2 separate regions of the Homo sapiens genome follow, and region 1 is linked to region 2. Evidence: promoter capture Hi-C in 16 types of primary human blood cells and fetal thymus (Javierre and others, 2016). All regions are on one chromosome and are shown on one strand. Each heading gives the region's core, a stretch centred on a gene start or on the middle of the fragment in contact. The rest is flanking DNA. Distances are from core to core; before and after follow the strand shown. Region 1 overlaps CEP85 (centrosomal protein 85). Region 2 holds the start of CRYBG2 (crystallin beta-gamma domain containing 2).

What was found. The method cuts DNA at HindIII sites, captures the fragments that hold promoters and counts their contacts. A CHiCAGO score of 5 or more calls a contact.
Region 1: a fragment that was not itself captured here is called in contact with the fragment with the promoter of CRYBG2 in region 2 in 1 of 17 cell types (M2 macrophages); the score reaches 6.3 in M2 macrophages.

What each region holds. Positions count from the first base shown.
Region 1 is chr1:26,236,166-26,241,975 of GRCh38, forward strand. It overlaps CEP85 (centrosomal protein 85), which reads left to right. Exons shown (of 14, transcript NM_001319944.2): 2 at 3,597-3,673. The coding sequence starts at 3,619. Among named protein-coding and RNA genes, the nearest start is that of CEP85, 4.9 kb to the left of the region's middle. The HindIII fragment of the contact is 3,240 bases long and covers 1,802-5,041 here.
Region 2 is chr1:26,350,564-26,355,858 of GRCh38, forward strand. It overlaps CRYBG2 (crystallin beta-gamma domain containing 2), which reads right to left and starts at 3,567. Exons shown (of 20, transcript NM_001039775.4): 1 at 3,473-3,567. RefSeq lists a silencer at 868-1,066. The HindIII fragment of the contact is 7,544 bases long and covers 810-5,295 here.

The DNA.
Region 1 (5,810 bases), core at 2,172-4,671, 110 kb before region 2:
TATGACCTTCACTACTGTAAACCTTTATTTTCTCATCCATAAAATGAGGATAATAGTAACTGCCTCATAGGGTTGATGTGAACATGAAACATGAGACATGATACTTAAAAAGTGTTGAGCACAGTGTTTGATAGGTAGTAAGTGCAGAATGCATGTTAAATTTGTTGAATGAGTGACTGTTTCTGTAGTTTAAAGGGCTTTGAAGATGGAAACCAATCCTGTTGGGTGCTTTTTTTTTTTTTCCCCTCTGTCTGCCTCCATTCACTCCCTTTCTAAGCTTTATAACTGGTGTGTTACTTCTTGTACATTCACTTCTCTCATTTTTATCCCAGGAAATTTCTGTCTCCTTCAGTTGTCCCAAAAATTTCCACCAGTAGCTCATCTAATTCTTAAGTCAAGAATGATTTATTTTGTATTGTTTTACTCCTTACGGGGTTTCTTTCTTTCTGTTTTTCTTTTTTGAGATATTTGTTGTCAATGAGGGTCAGACTCTGAAATATTTGAAGGGATTTATTCTGAGCCAAATATGGGTGACCAGTGGCCCCTGACACAGCCCTCAGGTGATCCTGATAACGTGTGCCCTGGTTTTAAACATTTTAGGTAGACATGAGACATCAGTCAAATACATGTAAGATTTACATTGATCTGGAAGGGTAAGACAACTCTTAGTGGGTGGGGGCTTCCAGGTCATAGGTAGATTTCAAAATTTTCTGATTGGCAGTTGGTTGAAAGTTGTTATCAATAGAAAGGAATGTCTGGGTTAAGGTATCCTGGGGATCAACATTTTATTGTACAGATGAAGCCTCCAAATAGTAGGCTTTAGAGAGAATAGATTATAAATGTTTCTTACAGACATCTGTGTTAATGTTAATGCTTTTCCTAAATTCCAGAAGGGAGGAGGGTATAATGAGGGGTGTAGGACTCCACCACCACTACCACCATCATGGCCTTAACAGGTTTTTCAGCTTAACTTTGGAATGCCATTGGCCAAGGGGAGGGATCCATTCAGGTGGTTGGGGATGTCTTAGAATTTTTTTTTTGGCTTATATCACATAACATAAAATTTAATTTTATGTGTGTGCAATTCAGAGGTTTTTAATATATTGGCAAGGTTGTGCAGTCAGTCACCACTATCTAATCTCAGAACATTTTGATCACCCTGAAAAGAAACCCGGTATCCATTAGCAGTCCCTTCCTATTCTCCTACCCTCCCTCCTCTCAGTCCTTTGCAATCACTAATCTGTGTCTCTATGGATTTGCCTATTCTGACATTTCATATAAATAGGATCAAGCCTTTTGTTTGGCTTCTTTGACTTTGCATGTCTTCAGTGTTCATCCATGTTGTCACATGTATCAGTACTTCCTTTTATTGCTGAATAATACTCTGTTTTTTGGATATACCACATTTTATGTATCCATTCATTAGCTCATGGACGTTTGTGTTGTTTCCACTTTTTGGCTATTGTAAATAATGCTGCTACGAACATTCTTATTGAAGCTTTTGTGTAAACCTGTGTTTTCATTTCTCTTGGGTGTATACTTCAGTGTGGAATTGCTGAGTCATAGGGTAACTCGGAGTTCTCCTTCTGTCACCGTATTTTCAACTTGTCTGAATTTAGAAACACCTTAGAATCCAGTGCGCCTACCATTTTGTTATCCTTTAAAGAAAGGAGTGAAGAAAAGGATTTTGATATTGACAAGAAAGGAAATCACTAGTAAGGAGGTAATCTAATCATTCTATGTCATCATTTAACTCACTGAATCATACTTGCCATAAACTAAAGCTTTTATTACTGAACAAAGCTTCCCTCACCCAGTATGTGAAGAACTGGAATTGTGGAGGATGATACCCTTTCTATTGTAGATGCAGTGAATTAATAAGGGTTTGGGTTGTTATGTACTTTAGTGACCTCTATAGTATTCTCTTAGTAACAAGAGAATACTATAGAGGTCACTAAAGTACATTAGAGAAATAGTACCATATAGTCTTTTTTCTCCAGAGTGATAGAATTATGTTCTGTGAATTGTCCCAAACTCTTTTTTTTTTTTTTTTGAGACGGAGTCTTGCTCTGTCGCCCAGGCTGGAGTGCAATGGCGCGATCTTGGCTCACTGCAGCCTCCGCCTCCATGGTCCAAGCGATTCTCCTGCCTCAGCCTCCCAAGTAGCTGGGATTACAGGCGCCTGCCACCATGCCTGGCTAATTTTTGTATTTTTAGTAGAGACGGGGTTTCACCATGTTGGCTGGTCTCGAACTCCTGACCTCAGGTGATCCGCCTGCCTCGGCCTCCCAAAGTGCTGGGATTACAGGCGTGAGCCACTGAGCCCGGCCGAATTGTCCCAAACTCTTTTGGGGCTTTTATAAATTTAGAGTTTCTGAGTTGATACTCCTTGATCTTCCATGGGCTGTACAGTGCTACTTTTGTTGATGTAAATTGCCAAGTAATAACAGCACTTAGTATGTGTCAGGAACTGTTGTAAGTTAATTATAAGTGAATTAACATGAATTAGGTTGTGTTGTTATCCTCATTTTTATATGAAGAAAATGAGGAACAGAGATACTAAGAAATTTGCCCAAGGTTACACAGCTAATAAATTGATAACTTAATGTTTAGTGGGTTCAAGTGTATTTGTTTAGACTTCAAATCCACTTCTGCTGAATTCTCAGCACCTACCCCTAGTGTACTGTAAATATAAATATTTTAAGGAGTGAGAACATGGGACGAGAACTTCACGTTCCTAGCTCAGGATTGGAGTTCTACTTATGAGCAAGAATTCTTTCCCATCTTTTTACATCGTATGACTGACTTTAATTACTGGAAGAATTGAGGAATTTGTTTTGTGTTAATCATAATTGATGCTGTAATACTTCACTGTTGGTTTAGTTCTTTAGTTCTTTATCCACCTCGTCCTGTCATCAGGTCCCCATGGCTAAGAAGATTCATGGTAAAGTTTGTTAATTAAAAGTAATATTTTTAAATTTTATAAAAATCAGAAGGGTTCTAGGACCGTATGGAATCTGTATTGGTAATCTCTGGTTCTAGGTTTTCTATACTGGATTTGGGAAGAGAAGTAGAGTGGAGTATTGGGATTTACTTTGTCTTAAAAATATCCTTAGAAGTAAAACATGTAAAAACATATTTACTCCTAAATATCCTTAGGAATATAACATTTAGAATACTGGAATATTCTTTTTTATTTTTTTTGAGATGGAGTCTTGCTCAGTTGCCCAGGCTGGAGTGCAGTGGTGTGATCTTGGCTCACTGAAACCTCTGCCTCCCGGGTTCAAGCAATCCTTGTGCCTCAGCCTCCCAAGTAGCTGGGACTACAGATGTGTGCCACCATGCCCGGCCAATTTTTGTGTTTTTAGTAGAAATGGGGTTTCCCCATGTTGGTCAGGCTGGTCTCGAACTCCTGACCTCAGTTGATCTGCCCGCCTTGGCCTCCCAAAGTGCTGGGATTACAGGTGTGAGCCACTGTGCCTGGCCAAATACTTGAATATTCTATATGGTTTTGACAGTTTCAGTTGAATGGGAACTGAGTTGCGGGGAATTAAAGATACTTCAGAGAACTGACTGGTTATTCCTTCATTCTACAGTTGGCTTAAATAACTGTGATTGATGGCCATGCAGGAGAAATATCCAACTGAGGGGATCTCTCACGTCACTTCACCGAGTGAGTAGTCAGAAGTTTTCTGGGTTAAATTCTGACCTTTGTTCTGTTTTTTCATATTCCTTAAGGTAAATATTGAACAAACAAGCATTCACTGAAATGCTGGTGCTAAAAGAATAAAAATAACATGGGGCTTCATTGAATATAAAAACAGGTCTCTGAGGGAACAAGTATTTATCTCTTGTGCTATGTGGCTTTCAACAGGACCACGTGGTTGGGAGAGGACGACATATAAAGGATTGGAACAGAATGACTTTGGAACATAGTTCCATTTGAAATCAGAAAAACACAGCATAAATTACTGTGTTCTATGTTGTCTTTGTCCTCTGGGTGGGTCAGTCATCTGCTAGCCCACAAAAATAGGAATTCTGCTTGGATGCCAACAGATTCCGTTGCATTGTTACTAGAAACTCAGGAATTTATCTTCAGAATGGATTAACAAGATTTTGAAACTTCAGTAGATATATTAAATATATACAGTCCTTAAGTGTCCATGGCGGACTGGTTCCAAGACCTCCTGCAGATAGCAAAATCCACAGATACTCAAGTCCCTGATATAAAATGGTGTGGTATTTGCATATAACCTGTGTATATCCTAATGTTTACCTTAAATCGTCTCTAGATTACTTGTAATACCCAATGCAATGTAAATGCTATGTAAATAGTTATACTGTATTGTTTGGGGAATAAGAAGAAAAACAAGTCTTATGCACATTCAGTAAGATACCATTAAAAAAAAAAATTGGTTGAATTCACAAACGTAGAAACCACGGATATGGCCAGGCGCTGTGGCTCATGCCTGTAATCCCAGCACTTTGGGAGCCCAAGGCGGGTGGATCACCTGAGGTCAGGAGTTTGAGACCAGCCTGGCCAACATGGTAAAACTCCATGTCTACTAAAAATACAAAAATTAGCCGGGTGCAGTGGCATGTGCCTATAATAATCCCAGCTACTTGGGAGGCTGAGGCAGGAGAATCACTTGAACACGGGAAGCAGAGGTTGAGGTGAGCTGAGATGACGCCACTGCACTCCAGCCTGGGCAACAGAGTGAGACTGTGTCTCAAAAAAAAAAAGGGGAAAAAAAAGAAACCATGGATATGGAGAGCTGACTGTATATTAAACACATAAATATATGTATGCACTGTGCAGGCATATTAAGTAGATAATATATATTTCAAATAAGTAATATTTTAGAAAAATGACTTGTTGAATTCTGGGGTATTGGTAAAGAAGAGGGCACGTTTAATTCAACTCAGGGTATGTTTTATTTAACTTTAAAATCTCACAGTGCCTTACTCAGCGTAGATATTTGGTAAATGTTTGGTGTATTCTCTTAGGCATGCTGCCTTGCATAGAGTAGGCACCATTATAAGCTTTGGTTGAATCAATTCAAGATTCATTCAGCAGAATTTTTTTTTTTTTTTTGAAATGGAGTCTCGCTCTGTCACCCAGGCTAGAGTGCAGTGGCGTGATCTCGGCTCACTACAAGCTCCGCTTCCCGGGTTCATGCCATTCTCCTGCCTCAGCCTCCCAAGTAGCTGGGACTACAGGTGCCCGCCACCATGCCCAGCTAATTTTTTTGCATTTTTTAATAGAGACGGGGTTTCACCATGTTAGCCAGGATGGTCTCAATCTCCTGACCTTGTGATCTGCCCGCCTGGGCCTCGCAAAGTGCTGGGATTACAGGCGTGAGCCACTGCACCCGGCCTCAGGAAATATTTTTTAAACATCTGCTATGTGCTGCACATTCTCTTAGGTTTGTACAGTTTCTATGACAATTATGTATATAATGCAAGTTTTTGGAACAATGCCTTTCCTATGGCTTTTTTCTCTCTTCAATAGTATCTCATTCAGATTAATAATGGTCTTAATAATTGATAAGGATGCTACTGATAGGACATGCACTATAACACAAAAAATTTCAGCTTTTCTTTTTTTTTTTTGGAGACGGAGTCTTGTTCTGTGGCCCAGGCTGGAGTGCAGTGGCACAATCTCAGCTCACTGCAACTTCTGTCTCCTGGGTTTAAGTGATTCTTGTGCCTCAGCCTCCCAAGTAGCTGGGATTACAGGCATGCACCACCACACCTGGCTAATTTTTTTGTATTTTTAGTAGAGACGGGTTTCGCCATATGCCCAGGCT
Region 2 (5,295 bases), core at 2,317-4,816:
AGTAACCGAAACAAGACTTGAACCCCAACCCTAAGTGCTCACTCACCATACCAAACTCCCTAATATATGTATCCTATAACTGAGTCTCTGGTTTGGGGGTTTACATTTACAGGGAGCCATGTCAGTCCTGGAGGGCGTCTCCACCCCCACTCCCTGACTTCCAAGCTACACTGACCAGGGCAATCCTATTCTTAGGCCCCACGAACCCCAGAGAGGCCAGCCTGTTCAGCCCGAGTCTTTGGGCCTTCTCCATGAGGTACCCTCCCCTCCCCAAGAGACCTGACTCTGGGCAGGAAATGGACCCACTGCCCCCACTCCCCTCCCCCATTTCCCATTGTCCTCCTTCCTGAGAAGCTGGTGGAATTCAGAACTTTGACCCTTCCCTGTGGCCACAGCAGTGACTCAGGCTTTATGAGGGGCAGAGATGAAAGAGACTGAAGCCCCGGGAAGCCTGACCTGACTCCAGGACTGCTGGTGGCTATGACAGTGTCAGGGACAGGGTCCAAGGGGGACTGGAAGGTGGAGGGGTTAGGTAGAGCCCTGGTCATTTTCCCAGGCCAGGGCTTCCTGAGAGCAGTACACAGCCAGACACCAAAGGCTCTGGATTTTAGCCTCTCACTGAGGCCCCAGCCCACTCCCCTGTCCCCATTAGGGAGCTCCCTTTTTCCTCATGCAACCCCTGCCCTCCTCGCTGGGACTCTGCCCAAATGAAGTTTGACGCCCTCGCTGAGCACCTCCTAAGCCCCTGTCCACCTGCCTTCCACTCTCCGAGCTTCCTTGTCTCTGATGGTGCTTATAGTAAGTGGCAAAGCTTGAGCTCTAACTCATTCATTCATTCATTCAATTACTCACTCATTCAGTGCTAATTGTATCAAGGGATGTGCTAGGCCTTGGCTAGACTCAACCAGAACCAGAGCCAACTTTCTCATGAAAGGTGGCATATTAAGAAGCCAGGGGCCAAGGAATTAGACATAAAAACAGGGACATTTGGAAAGCGCCATAGGCATCAGGAAAGCGACAGGAGAGCAATGTTAAAGGAGGCGGCCGATCATGAGATCAGATATTGTCGATGACCTCCTACCAATCAGAATTTAACGTCTTTCTCAACCAGCCCAACCCCTGGACAACACCCCTGATAGCCAGTCATTCCACAAGCATGTGGTCATTGGCTTCTGCCTGCATACCTCCAGGGACAGGGAGGTCACCACTCGACAGTTCACCTGCCCCGTCCCTGAACAGTCATGAGTGCTAGAATGTCCTTCAGACTCTGCTGGAATGTGCCTGCCTATAGATGCCCCCTTTTGTCCTTGCTCTGAAGACATACCCCAATACAATGACCCAGGATGCCTCTCCTGGGCCAGCAGAAGGGGCCATTCCCAGAGCCCTTTCTTCTGCAGGGCCCCAGACCAGAAGTGGATTTGTTGGCAGCGTGACCTGTGACCTCCAAACAAGGCGTGTGGAGCTGGGAAGGGAGAGGCTGAGGAGGGGGCGGGGGGAGTGTGGGAAAGAGCCTTGTCTAACCCAACAAGTCCTGGATTCTCCCCACTTACCTGTGAGTCACCCCCAAACTAGGCCAAACCAGTCCACAGGCCCACATGCAGGCAAACACATGCTGTGTCACACAGACGCAGGCACAGACACACAGACAGATACCGACACAGACCCACAATCACACAGGCACAAAGATACACCTAGAAGCCTATAAAAACATACACAACCAGGGACACACACACAAATATACACTCACCCAAGAAATACAAACACGCACAGGCACTCAGAGCCACAACAGACACACAAATCACATACAGACAGAAACACAGGCACAGTGACACACACGTGCACACATTCACAATACACACACAGTCAATTCACAGCCCCAAGCTCTCTTCCCCTTGAAATTCACCTACCCCTGAACGTGGACACACACGCTTGGATGCACACGTATCTTACACATTCCCACTGGCAGTCCCAGCTATGTCTCACTTCTTCTCGACTCCCATATTTGCCAATCTTGGCCCAGAGAACCTTCTCCCAGGAAGGGGACATAGAAGGATGATGTTTCTGGAGGTCACCTGCCCCCCACTCTAAGTGAGCCCTAGCCTCCCACCTGAGTCTGTCATTATCCACCTGGGCCCAAAATACCCAGGTAGTGGCAGATAGAAACCACCTCCCCCCAGCTAACCCTACTTCTCTTTCCCGTCCCCCTCTCCAAGGTAGCCTCCTCCACCCCCCTTCCCTCTCTCTGCAGCCCTTGTCCCCCAGCCCCTGACTTCTGGGGCATCCAAGCAGGTCTCAGAGCCAGCCTGGGTCCTACATCTCCCTCTTCCTTGGCACGGAAGCAGTCACATTGACCCCTGCTTGGAGGACCCCAGCATTCCTGATTCTGCCTCTGCTACTACAATGCTGCCCAATCCACCGCCATAGGAGCCTAGAAAACCCTGGAGCCCACACAGCAACCTCACTCAACCCTCCACTCTCTGCACAGGGCCAAAGAGGTTTCTTCCAGGCAGGATGGAGCAGTGGTTAGAGCACAGGCACTGGAGTTATAGAAACCTAAGTTCAGATTCTAGCCCCTTCACTTTCTAGTTGACTTTGAGCAAGTGACTTTCAGAGCCTCCTAGAATTAGGTGACAGGGGTTGGGATCAGTCCCTACTCATGGGATGGTTGGGAAGATTAAATAAAATTATGCTTAGAAAACAAATTGCAAATGACAGCCACCCCATCATCCTTAAGCACCCTTCAAAACCCCACCCCAGGCTCATTTCCTCTTCAGGGTCATCCCTGGGAGGTTCCATGTTCATCCCTCCTTGATGAGCTTTGGGGGACATATCCTTCCACCTCTGCGCCCCCCAGGCAGATTTAGGAGAGTCATTTCAACACAAATAAAACTAGGCTTGGGAAACTCGACACCCACTCCTTTGGCTTCCAGCTCAGAGCCAGGTGGGGTAATTATTGCTGTCACTGAGACGTAATTAATAAGCATCCCTGCTATTTTGGCACCCCCAGTCTCTGGAGTTCAAAGTATATTCCTGTAGCCACCTCCTCCTTCCTCATTTTCAGCTACCAAATCCTCTCAACAACTCAAGGCCCAGAGAGGTTAAGCAACTCGCCTCAGGACACCCAGCACCTAGGCTGGGTGCCAATTCCCAGGCTGAGTCTGTGGCCTCCTGAACAGAACTGGGGAGTGGTGTATGCTGTGAAGAAGGCAACCCCCCTTCCTGCCCATCCTCTCCCTGACAGACTTTCCCCTTTCTCAGATGGACAGTGGGGGTGAGAAGCAGTGGGTTCCAGGAGGTAGCCTGTGGGCAAAGGGAGGGAGAGGAAGGCAGGGTTGGAGCAGGGAGGGAAGGCAGAGTCGGCTCAGGGTCCTGAATGAATGGGCCTAGAGCTGGAGAGGCCCAGGGAATAGGCAAAGTCTCAAGACAGGGCAGCCAGGCCAGTCTCCCCTCCCATCTCCACACACAGACCGACCTCTACTCACAGTCTGCGTGGGGACCCAGGTGTCCAGCCAGCCTGGAGCTCCTGCTGCTGGGCCGTGCTCCCCTGATGCGATTGGGCTCTCAGCTGGGGTTCCTGAGGCGGGGCCGTCCGGCACCCTGTGATGGGGCGTGGCCCCTGGGGAGGCTCCCACCAGCCCTCAGATTCCTCAGGGCCGCAGAGGTGTGGAGCTGGTTGGGCCGGTTCTTCACCCTCCTCCCCTGGTGCTTGCCTGTGCCCCAGCAGGGTGACAGTGATGTAGTAGCGGGTCCTCCTGGAAGAGGGACGCGTGTGTAGGGTCTGGGCAGGCTCTGGCAAGGCAGTCCCTGGGGTGGCGGGCTTGCCCTTTGTCCCCTCTGCCCTGGGGAAGGATGCAGGGTGGAGCAGCAGGGGTGCGTCTTCCAGGTTGCTGGGTGGCTCAGGCCTCAGAGGGACCTCTGAAGCTGTGGGTGGAGACTGCTGACAGGTGCAGCCTGAGGATCCCTGCTCCCCATGTCCAGGAGCAGGCCCTGGGTATTGGGGGAGCCTGGTACGAGCAGACTCTCCTGAGGCCACTTCCAGGGCCAGGCTCTCAGGCCCCAGGGAGGCATGGCTGGCCAGGTCGAAGGCGCTGCCCACCGCTGGCCTCTGTAGGCGCCCCAGGGACTGAGCAGGACCCCCCGAGATTCCTTGTTGCTTCCAAATCCAGAAATCATCATGGTCCCCTACATGGATGTCCCATTCTGAGCAGCTCTGGCCTTGGGCCTGGGTGAAAACAGAGATAGACACTGAGAGAGGCAGGGGCATAGTGACAGCTCCCCCTGCCCTCCAGGCACCCCTGGTACCTGGTATCTTCCCTGTCACAAGGAAGCTGAACAGGGCTCTGACACCAAGGTAAGCTGCCCTAGGGAGAGGCTGCTAAGGCCACCAGAGCTGGACAAAGGGACAGAGCTCTGGGAAGGCCCTTCAGCATTTAACTCACCCCTTCCCATTCTACGTAAGAGGAAAGTGGGGCCCAAAGAAGACGGCGACATGACTGAGATCACACAGCAAGCCAGCGAGGGCTCCCAACGCTCAGGTGCCGCACTCCCTCCCAGGTGACAAGGCACCCAGGGCCTGGCCGGCCATGCCCCCCAAAGGCTGGAGATCTCAGCTTCCTTGCAGTCCTGAGGTGCTTCCCCGCCCTGGGGCTGAGGGCTGGGTGGGAAGGCCTGCCTCAAGTGCCCATGGCCTCTGCCCATTCCAAGCTAACAGAGAGACTGCGGCCACCTCTCTTGTACCCTCCCAGCTTGAGACAGAACACCTGGGAGGATGTACCTGGGATATAAGGGAGCCAGAGAAGAGGGTTCCCCTGAAATGGGACAACACCTGACCTCTTCTGCTGTCTTCCCCTGGGGTCCAGCCTGGCTGTGGGGATAAGAGGAGAGGGCTCAGCACCCCAGACCCAGATGGACACTGCCCCCAAAACGACCCGTTTTAAAAGATGGGCTGTTTCCTTGGCAACAGAGGAGGTCAAAATTCCGCCTAGCAGGGATCCTTGCTGCCAAATGCCTTAATTTACTCATCTATGAAACAGATGCAGCCTCTCATTCCCCAGGGGCTGACCACCTCAAGAGACAAGAGTACAGTGATGAACCTGGAGGCTTGGATCGAGGCAACCTGGGCTTGAATCTCCGCCCTGCTGCTTCCTATAATAGCTGCAGTACCGTTTGTATTTCAGTTTCCTCATGTGGAAAATGGGTGTGATAATAACAGTACCTGCCTCCTGAGAGTGTGGTACAGATGGTACAAGATAGTCCATGCAGAGGGCCCAACACATGACAAGTAGGCAATTAAAC